Regions from separate parts of the Homo sapiens genome. Here region 2 is linked to region 1. The links are contacts of gene promoters, found by promoter capture Hi-C in human tissues and cell types (Jung and others, 2019). All regions are on one chromosome and are shown on one strand. The core of a region is centred on a gene start or on the middle of the fragment in contact, and the rest is flanking DNA. Distances in the headings are between cores, read along the strand shown. Region 1 holds the start of GBA2 (glucosylceramidase beta 2). Region 2 has its middle 14 kb from the start of DNAJB5.

Region 1 (2,700 bases), core at 140-2,639:
ACCTACTCCCTGGAGCTAAAGCTTGAAGAAAGAAGCAGTAGTGTTGGGACTCTAACAGTGTGTCTAATGAGGTACAGAGAATGCCCCAGCTGCTTGTGGGAAATAAGGGGTTGAGACCCCCCCACCCCCAAATAAAACAACATTGTGTTAGTATCACAGCAGCCAGATTATCCTTTCCTACCTTGCCACAAAGTATAGCTAATCCCAAAGGGAAGTCATTGGAAACCAGTATGTGAGAAGAGCCTGAATGGGAAAGGCTGATTGCATGACCAAATGTTCCTACCCTTTCCTTCTGAAAAGACAAAACACTGGGAGGGAAGGGTGTTGCAAAGAGATGTGACCTGGTCTCACGGTCCAAAACCACAGGCCTAAAATATGCCAGGGATAGGGACCGCTTCACTCAGACAAGAAGCCCAACTGCTTTCTTGCCCTTTCCCACCTCTGCTAGAAGTTTTGAGCTGGAACAAAGTGAAGCCAAAGGCATTCTAGGCAATGGGGTCTACTCACCTCAAGCCCATGCCTATATGCTTTATCATGTTGCTTAGGGAGACGTTGTTAGCTTGAAAGGGTTTCCTCTTCTCTGTAAACTCATGAGCCAGACAGATGCGCCAGCCAAAGGGAGGCACCTGGTAGCCCATAGCTTTACCCTCATAGGAAACCATCAGCTGCCCAGAGTCCTCCGGATTGCAGCAGTCCGTCTCTTTTGGGGGTCGGCTGTCTTCGGGACTCTTACAGTCTGTAACCTGCACATCCTTGGTGCCGCCAGTCTCTTCAGGGCAATAAACTTGTGGATCCTCTTTGGCACAGCTTATCTGCTCCGAGGCTGGGACGCCGGTTCCCATGTTCCCTGGATCCTGGGTCCCCATGACCTCGATGGCGCCAAGTCCCGAGCCCTCGGATACTAAGTATCTCGCCAGCCTATTCCAGATGCGGGCGCCGGTCGTTGTTAGGTATCGTCCCGGAGGGCCGGGCGTTGGGGAAAGCTTAAATGAGCTGGTGTTTCAGTGGAGCCGGGGAGCTCTTGCTTCAGTGGGGGCGGCGACAGCAAAGAAGCCGCCTTGGGCTCTCCTTCGGTTGTCTCTGTAGGTCCTGGACGGGAAGGGTCGGGCCTCGTCGTCATTGAGCCGACGATTAGCTCGCCCGGCCAAAGGGCGACTGGGCCCGCAGAGAGGGGAGGAGCCGCGGGGCCAGCCCACCAGGCACCGCCCCGGGACGGGCCCGCAAGGCACCGCCCCCGGGACCTCGGCCCGGCCCCTGGGCCACGGCACCGGGTCCCCCAGGATTGGGCGCCAGGTCCCGCCGGCCGGCTCCGGGGCAGCGCCCGCGCCCAGGTGCCAGCCCGTGGGAAGGTGACCCTGGGCGCCGGGATGACCCGAGCCCTTTCCGGTCTGGCCTGCCGGGCGCTTCCGGCCGGAAGGGACTCCGCGGAGGGTGGGGGACCGAAGGGAAGTCCCGCCTCTACCGCCCAGCGGACGCCGCCGCCGCCGCCGCCGCCGCGTACCTAGCCAGGTCCCTGAGGGGCGGGCAGATGAGGCCTAGGGGTGCCGATCCCTAGTGTCGACTATGCGAGGTGACTAGCGGCGGTGATCTTGGGCTGGGACGTGGAACTTTGAGGAAAGGGGGAGCGGAGGCCAGTTTGGGAACTCCGCGGGGGTGCCCAGGGAGAAGAACCCGTCGCACAGGGGCTGGGGTCTAGGGCCCAGAGCGATGTCCTCCCCCTGGGCAGTACTGAGTCTTCAGTCGCCTCCCTCCCACCCGCCTACCCCTCCTATATCCAGGAGCTCCCTCGGGCACCACGGTGCTGACCACCCCTGTCCTCAGCCCTCAGCCCTAGGTGCTCACCGCAACGCCCCTCCCTGTCAAGGTGCTGACCTCCGCCCCGCCTTGTTTCCTTCTAGATCTGATTCCGGAGCTGCCATGATTGAAGTGGTAGCAGAGCTCAGCCGGGGTCCTGTATTTTTGGCTGGGGAGGCGCTGGAGTGTGTAGTGACCGTCACCAACCCCCTTCCGCCCACGGCCACTTCTGCATCCAGGTGGGGATGCTGGCACTGAAGGTGGTGGCCCTTCTGGGAAGAAGCCAGATTATCTCTGGGGCTGAGGCAGAGCTCAGGTTGTCCTGTAGCGACACCACCTCCTCTTGCTCACTGTGCTGTCATTGTAGGAGAGGGCTCTTTAACAGAAGATGTGGATGACATAGCTGTACGCTTTCCTTCCCCTCCCCCGTTCCCCTTTTTACGCACAGTCTGCTACTCTTTATTTAATGGTTTCTCTTTGGGATTGTGGATTTCCTGATCACTAGGACAGCCATCTAACCTTGTTGGTTAAGATGGTGTGATAGGGAGCTTGGGAAAGCATTTGTGAGGTCAGGAACTACCTCTGATGCCTCCTTTTCCTTTTCCCACAGTGAGGCCCTGGCCTGGGCCAGTGCCCAAATCCACTGCCAGTTCCATGCCAGTGAGAGTCGAGTAGCACTGCCTCCTCCTGACTCTAGTCAGCCAGATGTCCAGCCCGACAGCCAGACTGTCTTTCTGCCACACCGAGGTTAGAGAGGGGCATTTGCCTGGGAGAGGGGGGGTGCGGAGGGTGTGTGTGGAGGCATTGTCACCCATGGGTGAAGTTGTTAATTGTTCTTGTTCTTATAGTCCCTGTCATGCTGGGGATGTTGGGGAGCATGACTATTGCTTTAGGGGTAGAAGACTA
Region 2 (2,700 bases), core at 145-2,644, 750 kb before region 1:
AAGAGAGACTCCAGTGCAAAATAATCACCAGAAGTCAGGACAGTAGCCACCAGGGCCTCACTGTGCAGAGGTGAGACTCCAGGAGAGATGGTTCCATCCCCCAAGATTTTGGAATTTGGGAGCTGCTGAGGATGTGCAGCTGCTCTGGTTTGTCTTTGGTGCTCCACAGTGGTTGGGAGCCTATGTTGTCCTGTATGCCAGCAAGTGACTCTAAAATAGTTCCAGAAAAATTTATGTATATACCCCTCCAGCAAAGACTGGTAGACTCATTGGGTGCAATCACTTAATGAAACCTCTGTCTAGTCTTTGGCTAAGCTAGCCAAGCAGACACTTCAGTGGCCACACACAACAAAAAAAAATACACAATTTACACAATTAGTAAAGTCACGACACAAGCAAACAACAATGACAAATAGCAACAACAAAGCTTGGGGTCGGGGTGGGGAGTCTGATTTCCAGAAATGCCACATTATACTTGCCAGGCCTCTGAGCCCAAGCTAAGCCATCATATCCCCTGTGACCTGCATGTACACATCCAGATGGCCGGTTCCTGCCTTAACTGATGACATTCCACCACAAAAGAAATGAAAGTGGCCTGTTCCTGCCTTAACTGATGACATTATCTTGTGAAATTCCTTCTCCTGGCTCATCCTGGCTCAAAAGCTCCCCTACTGAGCACCTTGTGACCGCCCCCCCTGCCCGCCAGAGAACAACCCCCCTTTGACTGTAATTTTCCTTTACCTACCCAAATCTTATAAAACGGCCCCACCCCTATCTCCCTTGGCTGACTCTCTTTTCGGACTCAGCCCGCCTGCACCTAGGTGAAATAAACAGCCTTGTTGCTCACACAAAGCCTGTTTGGTGGTCTCTTCACACAGACGCGCATGAAATTTGGTGCTGTGACTCAGATTGGAGGACCTCCCTTGGGAGATCAATCCCCTGTCCTCCTGCTCTTTGCTCTGTGAAAAAGATCCACCTACGACCTCGGGTCCTCAGACCCACCAGCCCAAGGAACATCTCGCCAATTTTAAATCGGGTAAGCGGCCTCTTCTTACTCTCTTCTCCAACCTCTCTCACTATCCCTCAACCACTTTCTCCTTTCAATCTTGGCGCCACCCTTCAATCTCTCCCTCTCTTACTTTCAATTCCTTTCATTTTCTGGTAGAGACAAAGGAGACACATTTTATCCTTGGACCCAAAACTCTGGCGCCAGTCACGGACTAAGGAAGGCAGCCTTCCCTTGGTGTTTAATCATTGCAGGGACACCTCTCTGATTTTTCACCCATGTTTCAGAGGTGTCTGACCACATGGGGACACCTGCCTTGGTCCTTCACCCTTAGCAGCAAGTACTGCTTTTCTAGGGGGCAAGAACCCCCCAACCCCTTCTCTCCATGTCTCTACTCCTCTGCTTTTCTAGAGGGCAAGAACCCCCCCAACCCCTTCTCCTTCACCCTTAGCTGCAAGTACCACTTTTCTAGGGGGCAAGAACCCCCCAACCCCTTCTCTCCGTGTCTCTACCCCTTCTCTGCTTTTCTGGGGGCAAGAACCCCCGATCCCTTATTTCTGTGCCCCAACCTCTTATCTCTGTGCCCCATCCCTTATTTCCACGCCCTGACCCCTTATCTCTGAGCCCCGATCCCTTATTTCCATGCCCCGACCTCTTATCTCTGCGCCCCGATCCCTTATTTCCGCACCCCAACCTCTTATCTCTGTGCCCCGATCCCTTATTTCCACACCGCAATCCCTTATTTCCGCACCCTGACCTCTTATCTCTGCACCCCAACCCCTTATTTCTGTGCCCCGACCCCTTTCCTGCTTTTCTGGAGGGTAAGAACCCCCGAACCCCTTCCCTCCGTGTCTCTACTCTCTTTTCTCTGGGCTTGCTTCCTTCACTATGGGCAACCTTCCACCCTCCATTCCTCCTCCTTCTCCCTTAGCCTGTGTTCTTAAGAACTTAAAACCTCTTCAACTCTCACCTGACCTAAAATCTAAGCATCTTATTTTCTTCTGCAATGCTGCTTGACCCCAATACAAACTCAACAGTAGTTCCAAATAGCCAGAAAATGGCACTTTTAATTTTTCCATCCTACAAGATCTAAATAATTCTTGTCATAAATTAGGCAAATGGTCTGAGGTGCCTGACGTCCAGGCATTCTTTTACACATCGGTTCCTCCCTGGTCTCTGTTCCCAATGCAACCAGTCCCAAATCTTCCTTCTTTCCCTCCCACCTGTCCCCTCAGTCCCAACCCCAAGCATCACTGAGTCTTTCTAATCTTCCTTTTCTACAGACCCATCTGACCTCTCCCCTCCTCACCAGGCAGAGCCAGGTCCCAATTCTTCCTCAGCCTCTGCTCCCCCACCCTATAATCCTTTTATCACCTCCCCTCCTCACACCTTGTCCGGCTTACAGTTTCATTCCTCAACCAGCCTTCCCCCACCTGCCCAGCAATTTCCTCTTAAAAAGATGGCTGGATATAAAGGCATAGTCAAGGTTAACGCTCCTTTTTCTTTATCCGACCTCTCCCAAAATCAGTTAGCGTTTAGGCTCTTTTTCATCAAATATGAGAAACCCAGCCCAGTTCATGGCTCGTTTGGCAGCAACCCTGAGACGCTTTACAGCCCTAGACCCTGAAAGGTCAGAAGGCCATCTTATTCTCAATATGCATTTTATTTTATTACCCAATCTGCTCCCGACATTA

Evidence for each region. The method cuts DNA at HindIII sites, captures the fragments that hold promoters and counts their contacts. A contact is called where the count stands out against the background at its distance.
Region 2: a contact is called between a fragment that was not itself captured here and the fragment with the promoter of GBA2 in region 1, in 1 of the 25 tissues and cell types used here (spleen).

What each region holds. Positions count from the first base shown.
Region 1 is chr9:35,747,839-35,750,538 of GRCh38, forward strand. It overlaps GBA2 (glucosylceramidase beta 2), which reads right to left and starts at 1,390. Exons shown (of 17, transcript NM_020944.3): 1 at 508-1,390. The coding sequence starts at 866. RGP1 (RGP1 partner of RAB6A GEF complex) reads left to right here and starts at 1,449. Exons shown (of 9, transcript NM_001080496.3): 1 at 1,449-1,570; 2 at 1,899-2,033; 3 at 2,405-2,541. The coding sequence starts at 1,918. RefSeq lists silencers at 1,089-1,488, 1,609-1,658, 1,689-1,738. The HindIII fragment of the contact is 11,811 bases long and covers 503-2,700 here.
Region 2 is chr9:35,002,817-35,005,516 of GRCh38, forward strand. It overlaps the pseudogene LOC100420114. Among named protein-coding and RNA genes, the nearest start is that of DNAJB5, 14 kb to the left of the region's middle. RefSeq lists an enhancer at 508-1,008. The HindIII fragment of the contact is 4,415 bases long and covers 1-2,700 here.